3 separate regions of the Homo sapiens genome follow, and all the other regions are linked to region 1. The links are contacts of gene promoters, found by promoter capture Hi-C in blood cells and fetal thymus (Javierre and others, 2016). All regions are on one chromosome and are shown on one strand. Each heading gives the region's core, a stretch centred on a gene start or on the middle of the fragment in contact. The rest is flanking DNA. Distances are from core to core; before and after follow the strand shown. Region 1 holds the start of HOXA11 (homeobox A11). Region 2 overlaps LOC100506236 (a long non-coding RNA gene). Region 3 has its middle 55 kb from the start of MIR148A.

The links. The method cuts DNA at HindIII sites, captures the fragments that hold promoters and counts their contacts. A CHiCAGO score of 5 or more calls a contact.
Region 2: a fragment that was not itself captured here is called in contact with the fragment with the promoter of HOXA11 in region 1 in 1 of 17 cell types (naive B cells); the score reaches 6.0 in naive B cells.
Region 3: a contact is called between a fragment that was not itself captured here and the fragment with the promoter of HOXA11 in region 1, in 11 of 17 cell types (total B cells, naive B cells, naive CD4 T cells and 8 more). The highest score is 18.9, in total B cells.

Annotation. Positions count from the first base shown.
Region 1 is chr7:27,183,465-27,187,552 of GRCh38, forward strand. HOXA11 (homeobox A11) reads right to left here and starts at 1,768. Exons shown (of 2, transcript NM_005523.6): 1 at 972-1,768. The coding sequence starts at 1,680. It overlaps HOXA11-AS (HOXA11 antisense RNA), which reads left to right and starts at 1,944. Exons shown (of 2, transcript NR_002795.2): 1 at 1,944-2,799. RefSeq lists enhancers at 1-249, 250-1,131, 2,014-2,895. The HindIII fragment of the contact is 8,872 bases long and covers 1-4,088 here.
Region 2 is chr7:25,828,928-25,833,015 of GRCh38, forward strand. LOC100506236 (a long non-coding RNA gene) reads right to left here. Exons shown (of 3, transcript XR_108752.5): 1 at 3,983-4,088; 2 at 2,839-3,022; 3 at 2,364-2,632. Among named protein-coding and RNA genes, the nearest start is that of LINC03007, 41 kb to the left of the region's middle. RefSeq lists an enhancer at 1,173-1,745. The HindIII fragment of the contact is 4,145 bases long and covers 300-4,088 here.
Region 3 is chr7:25,893,181-25,897,268 of GRCh38, forward strand. No RefSeq gene overlaps it. Among named protein-coding and RNA genes, the nearest start is that of MIR148A, 55 kb to the right of the region's middle. RefSeq lists an enhancer at 2,080-2,169. The HindIII fragment of the contact is 3,429 bases long and covers 1-3,400 here.

The DNA of each region.
Region 1 (4,088 bases), core at 518-3,017:
TCTTTCCCGGCTGCGGCCAAGACTGGGCAGTCCTTAACATCTGGGGCGGCTGCCGGGTCTTTGTCAGCCTGAGTCCTGGCCACCAGCTTCTGCCTCCCCGGCCAGCCTTCCGGCTCCGCCGAGGTGGGGAGGTGGCGGCGGAAGCCCCCTACCCTAGGCCTTCGCTGAGCACCACGGCCACACGGCCATCCTGCACACGGCAGAGCAGCGGCTCTATCTTAGGTAGGGTGAAGGGAAAGGGGGCTTCCCGAAGCTGCGGGCAGGCTCTACTTGCTCCCCCTTTAAAAAAAAAAAAAAAAAAAAAAAAAAGACCCACAAGACAAAAAAAAAATCGCTTTTGACAGATTGAATAACAATTGTGAATAACATGCAGTTGGGCAGAAGGAGGCACGTAATTGCCACCACGCCAGAGGAAAATGGCTTCCTTTGGACAAAAAGGCCAACTTTGGGTTAATTTGTTCTTTTAATATATTGCTAGAGCTAAGCGGGCTACTTTATCTGTTAAACGCGCTCCTAGCGCCGTCGTTAAACAGCGACGCCTTTGAATCCCGGCCGGGACTGGAGTCCCGGCGCAACACATGGCTTTTATAAAAATCTCCGGATTACCTCGCTATCAAAAGCTCCCGAAGCCCTTGCAGGGGGAATTTACAGGCGCCCACCTCCGGCTCCCCAGCCTGGAGCTGGCCCCGAGCGGGGTCGAGCTGCTGGGCTTGGGAGCTGAGAAGGGAAAAAAGGGAAAAGGGGAGTTGTTTTTTTTTGCAGGCATGCCTTGGCCGGTGGGTATTTCACGGCCAATTTCAGCACTCGCCACGTGATCCCGCCTTTTATAACAAAGTTTTGTTGGGGGAAACCTAAAGGCCCTTCATAAACCTTATATGCTTATAAAACAGCATATAAAAATTTAACAGCGGTGCTGCGCTAGATTTCCAACTCCCCTTTCATAAAGCGCAGGGCGCTGCCTTTATACGTACTGGAGCCGCCGGCCTTGTCCTCAGTGTGGCCGGAAGACGACTCGGGGCTGCTGCTGCTCTCGGGGCGCCGCCGCCGCTCTTTCTCCTCTGCTGCCGCCGCCGTCTCCCGGCAGCCGCCGCCGCCGCCGCTGTCCGAACTTGAAGTTGCCGGCGCGCCCGTTGCAGCCGCCGCCGCCGCCGCGGAGGTCGCCGTGGCCGCCGGGGGCCCCTTCTCGGCGCTCTTGTCCCCGGGGTAGTCGGAGGAGGCGAGGTTTTCCGGGGTGCCGTAGGCTGTCTCGAAAAACTGGTCGAAAGCCTGTGGCAGGACGCCGTTCCTGCCCACGGTGCTATAGAAATTGGACGAGACTGCGGGGGTGGGGTGGTGGTAGACGTTGGCCGAGCTCTTGGCCAGCACGTCGCCAGGCACGCCGGCCGCGCTGGGCGCCTGCAGGCAGTCTCTGTGCACGAGCTCCTCCGCGGAGTAGCAGTGGGCCAGATTGCCGCGGGGGTGCCATTTAGTGGCGGGCTCAATGGCGTACTCTCTGAAGGTCACTTCGCGCACGGGTTGGACCTGGGGCAGGTTGGAGGAGTAGGAGTATGTCATTGGGCGCGAAGACGGGGTCTGGGGCAGAAAAGAAGGGAGGCTGGAGAAATCTGGACCCGAGACGTAGTAAGTACAACTTGGCAAATACATGTTAGAGGAGCAGGGACCACGCTCATCAAAATCCATTATTGGGCTACCTTGGGCTCTCCGCAGTAGCCGAGCTTAACATGATTCTCCACTGCAGCTGCCTCTTTGAAGCGGATCCGTGAAGTAGAAATTTGGAGACGTAAGCTGACGTGGAAATCTATCCCCATCCTTAGCAGGGAGGTGCTGGTCATGTGACCCGATGTTGAAATTGACAAGCTGCTAGCTAGTCCGGGCCTTTTCCCCCCCCCTTTCCTTTTTTTTTTTTCCTCCTCTCCCCTCCCTCCCGGCTTCCTTTCTTTGTAGCCACCTCAGGGGAAGCAACAGATCGTCACTCGGTGTTCTCACCGAAAGCACGTAATCGCCGGTGTAACTCATGTTGGCTGGGGGGCCTCCCGGCGCGCGCGGAGAGGCTGGGGTGCGCCCCCATGCAGCATGCTTGTGCTCAATTGCAGGGTCCTCGTTCTCGAGTGTGCAGAGGGCGGTGAGAGCTCAACTCTCGTCCCCACCTCCCACCCGCAGCTCCCCGGGTGGGTGAGGGATGCCCTGGACTGGGGATAGCCAGGTGGGAGTCCGTCGCTGTGTGGCCTGTGGTCTCGGAGTCTGTTCTCCTGGAGTCTCGCATTTGCACCCCCTTCTTCGCAGTCCCCCTCCCATAGACTTGCTCTGGGAAGCGCCTCTGCCTCCGACCCTAGCCGGAACCCCTTCGGGGCCAGAGTTTGAAGCCGTGGATGTGCCTGCCTGGTGGCTTGTCCGATTTGCACGGTGACTTGATTACACTCTCTCATTCATGGTCACTTCCGAAGCGCTTTAGTGCCTTCCGTCCCTAAACCGCCAACAGCCAGAACGGCTTCTCCCCGCGGTTTGTCACTGATCCGCAGGGCCCGGAAGGGCCTTCGTCTTACCCGGGATCCACCTCTCCCCTCATCTTCCCTGCCTACCTCTTCATCCCACCTTCTGTCCTTGGAGAAACTCCCTCCTCCTCGCTGCCTGCCGGGCTTCGGAGTGACTCGGCAGAGACAGAGGCACAGGGGCTGCCCTGCTGCTCACCGGTCCACCCATCTGCCTGGTCTTCTGGAGCTGAGGACTCGGGAAACCATGCAATTGAGGCAAGCCTTGGGCTGCTTTAGAGGCGCTGACATCCGAGGAGACTTCTCCTGGGTATGCTGCATCTTCGTGGGGGGCCCATCAGGCTGCTTACAGAGCTCCAGGGGTGTGGGGAGAATGGAGGTGGAAAGGACGGGCTGAGGGCCAAGGAGAGGTGGCTGAGAAAGGGGTAACCCACCTACTCTCCTACTCTCCTTCCTTGCAATGTGTGAGAGTGAAAGCAAGGGATGTGCAGGGCAAAAACTCAGAGAGCTCTGTGCCTTTCCTACTGCTCATTCCACAGGAGGAATACAATACCAGAGAAAGGAGAGGTGCTTCCCGAACTCCCTGCACCTGGGGAAACAGGGATGTCTTTAAAAAGCTAGGTTTGTGCTAAGGATAGAGAGAGGCCATAGCAATACTCTGAGTCTAGCTTTCTTGAGAAGAGGAAAAAAAATAAATTAAGAAGGCAAAATATGCTCCCCATCCTGCAGGATTGAAGGAGCAATGTTTGGAGGAAGCGAAAGAAAGGAGAGGACACAGAGCACAGAGCAGCCAGGCAGAGCCAGGAGCTGAGAAGGGCCCAGACCTGAGGCCTCCCAACAACTCTCTTCTTGGAAGGATCTGGGATGTTGCTGAAGGAAAATAAAAAAATATGTAAAAAGATAACCTTTTGTTTTTCCCTCTCCAGGAAATAGCCAAAGTTATTTACATATCTTGGGGAGATTTAGAGTATAAACTCTAAGATCTTTGGTATTTAAGTGTCAACATCGATTTATTTATTTATTGCTGAGCTGACTGTAACTGACTCAATAACAAATCTAATCGTGTATTGCACTGGAAAAGAAATATTCTTATTATGTATTTTCTCCAAATAATGGCCTACCATTGCATTTGAATACCTGCTGTAAATATCAATAATATGAAGTAATTACTCTGTAGTCGAGTAAACTAATTTATTAGCATTAATGTTTATGTGGCTCTCCACCTCCCCCCACCACCACCTTTACAAGGATTGCTTATCACAAATCAAGCTACTTGGACACATTGGTTTAATGAACTCTTTATTCAAGATTTGCTACAAGAATTTTCATGTCCTTTGAATCCCTGAGAACTGAACTTGAAATTATTTGTGCATCTTCAGCTTGACATATTTGTCCACTGTGGCTTGTCCAGAGGGCAGCAGTGCTGTGAGTGAGAAGGTCCAGTGGGAAGGAAGGTTATTGGAGAAGAGTAGCCTCAGACCTCCTAAAGCTGGGAAGCACATTTACAGAATTGCCCTGCAGCGAAAAAACTTCTATTTCCAGCAGTGACCAACAAGGCAAAATGTTTGTTTCTCCACAGCATCTCTTTTTTAGAGACAG
Region 2 (4,088 bases), core at 1,122-3,621, 1.4 Mb before region 1:
CAGTCAGCAATATTTGCTGTACATTTTAGAATAACTAAGGGAGCACAACTGGAATGTTCATAACACATACAAATGATGGATTTTTCAGATGATGAATATCCCCATTTACCCTGATGTGATTAAACATTTTATACCTGTAGCAAAATATGTCATGTACCCCATAAATGTATACACCTATTATATACCCATAAAAATTAAAAATTAAAATTTTTCATAAAGAAAAAACTAAAATAAAAACAAAATAGAACATAAAATATCAGATTGTATTGCACAGAATAAAGATAAGTATCATCTCCCAAAGCTTTCCTTTCCTGTTGGTGTGTGTCTAGTGTGTCACAACGTGCTAATTCAAAGACACGTGACTTGTGTTTTATGAAGAGTCTCAAGCAAGCAACATACTTTCTTCATCTGTCTGATCAGTCTTGGTGACTCTTGCACAACCCTAGACAGTTCAAGGTTTGTCAATTTACTCATCAATGTCCAGAGTCAAAGCTATCATCCAATTTTCCTTGTACTGCCTCCAGAATTATCACACTTTGTGTCTGGATCGGTGACACAGTAGTCCAGGCTCTGCCACCAGTCTCAATGACAGAAATGTTTTAATCTCTCAAACTATCATTCTGCCAAGTCTTTTTCTAGCATGCTGGGGCATCTACCCTCCTCCACACCAAGTTCATGCTAACTGCTTGCATGGGGTTCCCCGCCAGACAGCTGAGAGAACTCGACTCTCAAAACTGAGTTGCTCCTAGGAAATCCCTTATTTCTCTATTTAAACTTTCATTGATTGATTTCACAAATATCTTCTGCCTACTACATGGCACATGCTCTAGGCAGACAATGGTCAGCAAGACAAGAGTGGCCATTGCCCTGCAAAGTCCCCTGCCTTGTCAGATGTCAGAGTCCAGCTGTCACAAGACAGGTACAGTCTCAAGTTCTCTTTAGGACTGACAAGCATTTGCTGCATGACCTTTGGCAAAATATTCCATCCTGTCACTCAGAGGTTTGATTGCTCAGAAGTTGTGTTTTCTGGCCTACTGAGAATCACAGGATCTTAGACCTGGCAAGGCCCTTAAAGAGCAGATTCTCTATTTACTGATGAGGAAACTGAGCCCCAAGAGGTGTTATCCTTTGCCCACGGGGACACATGACCCACTAGGAACATGTGTGCCAGCACCCCCAGCCCACCCCAGGACTGCCCCCCCATAGTGAAGCTGAATATGATCAGTTCCTTATGAAGAATTGAGAGACCTTCAAAAGGAAGTACCCTACATCCTGAACTTTTCAGAGAGATGGGTGGTGCAAAATGTTCAAGTGACAACACACGTGGAAAAAAAAAAAAAAAACCAAAGGCATATTTGGATCTTGCAGAAGGGTTTTCAGCAATACAAAGGCACAAGAATGAGAACAGCAGGAGTCCCACTTACCAGGAGCATTCCCTTAAAGCCTCATGTGTGCCTCCTAATAAATCTGCTTTTTCCTTTTTGAAGTTTAAGCGCTCCCTTATTGAGCAGTCTCCTGGTAGCCAGGAGTCCCCTAGGAAACAATTGTCTTGCTTCCAGTGCTGGGGCACTCAGACTCTTGGTTTGGTTTGGTTGGTTGGTTGATGGGTGATTTTTCCCTCCCTCTATCTTCTTAAAACTCCAGCCAGCATATAGGGGTTTTTCGTTTAGCTTCCTCAGATCCCCAGCCATTTCCCTAAAAGTCCATCCCATTAAACATGAAATCCACAGAACACACACCAAGCTACTTTTTCTCTCCCCTAATAAATCAGGTAAATTACCTCTTTTGTTTTTAAGACCATTTCAAGTTCGCCTTTAACATTTTTAGTTAAGGCATTATTTATGTTGTGATTTAATCGAGATTTAATCCACTTCTCAGCACACCATCGTATCGCAATATCCCTGAATTTTTTGCCCATATTATTAAACTTGAGGAGCACGGTAATGTTTTCCTCAGGCATGACACTGATCATTTCCAGATTGTGCATGTCTCTCTGGCTTTTTAACACACCTGAGTTTCTAAGGCCCACTAAAATAAATAACGGTTTGGTCTGCAAAGAACTGGGGCTGCATTAATAAATGCAGAGAGATCTATGTTTATCTCCACTTTCTGAAAACATAAGCGTCTTCTACAAATATGAGTATACACAGCAGAAATCATGTGAATCTCTTGGTAAATGTTTGCCTTCACATCCTGGGGTATGCTGCACACCAGATGGTTTGATCAAAACAAAATCATACACACACACACACACACGCGCACACACACACACACACACACACATGTTTGAGCACCATGCCTCCTCATTTTTGTGACTTTTTTTCTCCTTTCATGCATGAGAAAGAATGTAGAAATACTTAGAATAATGACCAGTATGTTCTGTGTTTACTGCTGCTTTCCCTCACTAGAGATTAACTCATAAAATTTTACTCCAAATTAAACAAACTGAGGCTCTCCTTGCAGCCAGTCAAACTGCCACTTATACCAAAGGAAATCTTAACTTCCATCTCTGAGAGTTTGAACGGCCACCCCTGCGGAAAGATAACAGGGTCTCTCTTTTCCTCTCTGTGTTCTGCGAGTCCTTGGAGGTGCCAAAATACTTGTCTGGACTCTGGCCCCCAGGGCACTTCATCTGCAATTAGAATGGAAACTGTATTTTAGAACATTAACATCTCTCCTGCTGTTTTTTTTTAATGATCTGATTGCTCCAATTATAGTTATTTAGAGAAATCGGACAGTCAAGGATTTTACCAGTAGGTAGGCAAGAAAGCACCTTTGACTGTGGCAGAGGACTTGCAAAGACAATTGTGTCTAGGAAAGACTTAGGAACTGTCTCACCATCCTGTCTTCTCAGCTGAAATTTCTCTGGGGATGATTAGATGTTGTCTTTGAAAAATCCAAATGGGAGAATGTGTATAAAACTACCCCGTTCTGTGCCTTGAGCACAGTAAGTTTTCAATGGACGTTAATTCCGTTGGAATCCCAGGCTTGAGACTGCAATCCAACGATGCATGTAAAAGACCTTGAGAAAGAAAACAAAAAGGCTCAAGGTCATGACCTCACCAGTCTTTTTGTCTTCCTCTCTATATTGCTCGTGTTTCACAGCCTTCAGCCCCAGTAAACAACATTTTTACCTGGAAGGAGCTTAGAGAGGACTTTAATTTTAGAGGGGCATTTACAAAGATCCTCTGATGCAAGCTCCCTGCTTCCTACTGCTAAAAGTCTGCTTCTTTTCAACAGTGCCCGCCTGGAGCCATGGTTGTGTTTTTGTGTGGTCTCATTCCTGTTTTATGGATTGTTCATGTACCCTGGAATCCCTGGGATACTTCAATTACAAAAATTACCATGTGCTGGGTTCCTTTCGGGTTGACAAGACTGCTTTCCTCTCTCTCTAAGCCGGGTTGTGTTTGTTTACATAGGAAATGTACTCTTTCTTAACATTCACTGTTTCAACATCCACTTAGATAGCTTCATTAAAAAATGGGTTAAAAAATAAAGAAGGGTGGCAAGAAAAGGAAAAAAAATACATCTTTCTATTTCAACCAAAAATTTGGTTCAGAACAAACTTGGAAAATCAGAGGATGTTTTTCTTTTCATCGCTGAAACAATGCTCTGCTTGTTCTCCCCGGGCAATGAGAACTACCCGGGCTTGGATCAGTGGGTCACATTGTGCAAAGTGTTTTTCCTGTTTAAACTATGTGCTTTCTTAAATGTTATCTTTTTGGAAGAAAATTAGATAACCTTATGTCCCCAGACTATATCGTATTTGTTTGAATAGGAAATGCTAATATTTTTCTACATGTTTCGTATCGGTGTCAGTGGAAACTCAGTTTGGTGGTTAAGACAGGCCCCTCTAAGCTCTGGGAATCACATTGGCTATCTTCCAGAAGCCAAGAGGTTCACGGTGATTTTGAATAATCATCTCCATAGCTATGTGAAGTATCTATATTACTTAGCCAGAAGAAAACAAAATTATATTTACCTTTTCTGTATTTAATTAATTTATCTTTAAATATGTCATTTGATGAGATTTTCCTTCTTAATTTCTCTTCTCTTTACCTCCACCTCCTGTGTTACTTCTGCTTTCT
Region 3 (4,088 bases), core at 436-2,935, 1.3 Mb before region 1:
TTTAAAGGACAATGCCCTAAAAAGGCAGACACAATTGGGCTTCCTCTTTATTTTACCTTCCTATAGAATGTCGGCATGTGTATGAGCGTGTATGAGCGTGTGTGTGTGTGTGTGTGTGTGTGTGTGTGTGTGTGTGTGTGTTTAGCAAACATTTATGATTGAAGAAACCATTCAGGGAATCCAAAAACTAAAATGCAGGATTCCACTGCCTCCCCTCCACCCACCCCGCAAAAAAAAAAAAAAAAAAGTGACGTTTCAGGCCAAAAAATTGTTTTCGTTGTTATTACTTCTGTAACTGTCTTCAATCACCTATTAATTTAACCAGCAAATATTTATTGAAGCCCCTAATGTGCCAGTCCCTGGGCACACCATGATACCTGAGCCACATCTCACCCTGCAGGGTCTCACCCATGATGAGAAGGCAGTTCTCTTTACTCCTGTCAGCCAGATTTAGTCTTAGAGCATCAATATCCATAAGTGAAAAGTGACACTTCAGCTTAGATTATTTCTCTTTTCACTGCCCTTCAGAAAAATTTTTTTTTTTTTCAGAAGAAAATAGGATTTTAAAATCACTGCTTTCTAGATGTGACCATCTCAGCCTGAGCAAGAAGGATCAAAACTCTCTTGCTGGAACTGCCTTCTCAGTGACTGAATTTTTATGAATCAAATAAAATGGTTGCTTGTGGGTTTGGGGAATGCTTTTTTTCCTTCCAAAGTCCCATATTGATTAGAATGAACTACATCGAAATTTAACAAGTGACAGAAGAAAGTGCCACCACTCTTGGCGTCTAATGAAGCTGTTGGGCAGTGCTGCCATCCAGAGTGGGGGAAATGGGACACAGGAAGTCTGTTTCCTCCTCCCCCAACAATACTCCCAGCCCCATTGGTTTGTACAAACAAACATGTGAGACCACGTGGTAACATAGACAAGTTACATTCCTTACCTCAGGTAATACCCACAAGATAGCCCCATTTACCAGCTGAGCAAACTGAGGCTAAAGGTTACTTCTTTGCCCAAGGTCACACTGCCAATATCCAAACCCAAGTCTGTCCACCTCCAAAGATCATGTGCCTTCTGCTACCCAGTGTAAATAACCCAAAAGAACTCAAAGACTGTTTTCTTTGAAGATAGGTGAGGCAGACACTGCTGTGTGCTTGCCCCGAGCCATCCTATCTGCTTCCTGTGCACACAGCTGGACTACATTTCCCAGCTCCCCTTGGGGGAAGGTTGGCCCTGAGAGTGGCGTCTAGCTAGTGGAATGTGAGTGGCAGTGAGGCCTGCCCACCTCCTGCACAGTCCTTCATTCTCTCTCTCTACCTGTCACAGCCAGATGCAGAGTACTCAGCAGCAAACATTAAGGCCCTTAGGGATGGTGGGGCCACAGAATGAAAGGTGCCTGGGTCCCTGAATCACTGCATGGAAGCTGTCCAAGAAACGCTTTCAGTGGTCCAAGAGCAAGAAATAACTTGTTTTGTGTTAAGCCACTGTGACACGGGGTTGCTTGTTAAACAGTTAGCCTTTGATACATAATACACAAGGAAAGAAAATGGCTTCTGTGAAGGTGTCCATTTGCCCACCAGGGGACTTGCCTAGTTCTGTGGTGGTGAATTTGTTCACAATTTCCCTGGGCGTCAGGAAAAGAAGACATTGAGCTAAGTGATCTCTAAGGTCTTTCCCCGACCTGAGAAAAGCCTGTGGTTCTGTGGTTCCCCTCTCTCACCCGCCGGATCCCGTCTCCCACCACTCATATCTGCAGGGGCCAGCTAAGTTACCTGGACCAGGAGGGACTTAGCCCAAACTCCTACCCACCCAGGAGTCTTCCTTCCCACATAACACCTTCCCTGTACTCTGCTGGGCAGCTATACACAGATATGCCCCCTCGGCAGTGGCAGCAATATGTAAGATGCCCCGGCAGGAGGACGGGGGGCTTCACATGGCCTTGTGCCACCTGTCCCAACTTTCCCTGCCCCCTGTGTAGCCTGTGTGGGAAGATGAGCACCTTCCTCCAAGAAAAAGGCTGGGTATAGACCAAGACCTGGAAAACTGCTGGGTATCCGAAGAGTGAATATGAGGAATTCTGCTCTTTGAAAGCACTGCTTCTTCGACTGATGTCACTAACATCCATGAAATATCATCCTTAAGCTATTTTAAGTCTACCTCCAGTGACTCATGGGATCTCCTTTTCTGTCACTGAACGTGATGTGCTCAAAATGAAGATAATGTTAATATAGGGAAAAGCAGAACTGAGAGTTTTAATGACACAGACTCCTGGCCAGATCAGGAAAGGAGGGTGTAGTTCGCGGCATTTGTGATTCCGGCTGGGTCTCCGGTGCGGAAATGAAACTCGCCCCCTGCTGGCCCGCCCCGGCGCTTTCAGAGGGAAGGGGAGCCAGGACGCCCGCGGGGATGGCTGCCCAGCTGCGAGTCACACACGAGCGTCGCCCACGCCCGGCGCCCCCGCACTGCCCATGATAGGGACCTACTGAATTGGATACTAGTGGTGTTTCTGGAAAAATCAGGGAGGATTGAGACCTGGGTTTTCGAGTGACAAATTGGTGATGCAGATGAAAAATGCAGGACCCAGTTGCATATGGTGGCAGTCTTTGGCTGCCTGGAGAGAAAGAGAGAGAGAGACCGCGCGCTCACTATCAATATGATTAACTATTATAGTGCGCAGTGTTTGGGGCTATCCATTCCTTTTCCTCCTTCTTCTATCACAGATTCCTCCCTCTCTGATTTCAGAAGGAGGAGTTAGGGAGGGTCGGGTAAGTGCCTGACCTAGGCCACTCAGCATCCCCCTTCCTCCACCAGAGTCCTTGGCCAACTAAAAACCATTCCTGGGAATCTTCTGCGGAACCCTGCCCCTCTACCCTCCAGCCTGCCAAGCCTTTTTTCTGTCCCCTGCAAACTAAAGAATCCTGACTACCAAAGCTATTGATGGTTCCCACAATATGTATTGTTTGAATCCACTAGCACCTGACACAACCCAAATTATGAATTACCATAATTACCAAGGGTAAAACCCAAGGTTAATGATGAAACAAATTAGTGCACAGTTAAAAAATATAAAAGTGTTCTATAACTACTACAAAATGAGATAAGGTTAATTAAAGTAATTTTCAAAATATTAACAGAACCATAGTTCCAGCAAGTATAGGAACATTATCAGCGCATTTGCATCATTAAAGGATTTAAACAATTTATAGAGCCATAGATAGAACACTTACATTTGTGAAGGTCAAAAAAAGGATAAACTATTTAGCTTTATTTTTGTAAGCCTATTTCGTTTTCTACATACTGTGGCATTATTATATCTAAGAGTTAAACTGCTCTAAGTATTATTTGTAGATATCTATTTATGAAAGAGGTTATCTTGCTTATAGGAAAAATAATGGATTAAGCTTAACCATTCACAAATGGACAGTTATTTGTAGGTACTTAAACGTGAAGATCTATCAGAGCATGGTAATTTGTCATTTTTTAGTGCTTATTTGACTGTCTATAAGAGCACAGTTGAGTACAAAATGACGATGTTTCTGTAGTGCCACTGCTAGTTTGATTGATAATGAGAAGATACAGCTACCATTTTTAATTTTTAAAATGCAAGATTATTCTGGAGTAAATTAACCTAATCACACAGAGCAAGTAAATTAATGTCAGTTCCTTACTTAATTGCAAAAATAATATTAACCCAAAGAATCTAAATCCACTTCTGACACATATTCAATTTTTATAATGTTACATAGACAGTTTTTCTGGATTATATGTAATGGTTTCCAGCATTAGCTTCTCTGCTAATTGGAAACGTTGGGCATGGGAGCATACATATTCCAGTGGTGTTGAAGAAGGTTGCTTCCAGAATTGATCTAGCTATATTACAATTCGGGCACCATCAAAGAACCATTGGGTATTTTTCATGGCAAGCCTGCCATAAACTCACCCAGTGAGAACTTCTCAGGGCTTTCATTCTCCTGGCGTAAGTGGGTTTTTTCCAAAGCAGACCAACAGCTCTCACTTGAGAACTCAAGTTTTCCAGCTCTCATTTCCCCAGTCTGCCCCAAGCGAGTCAAACAGTGTCAGTACTGTC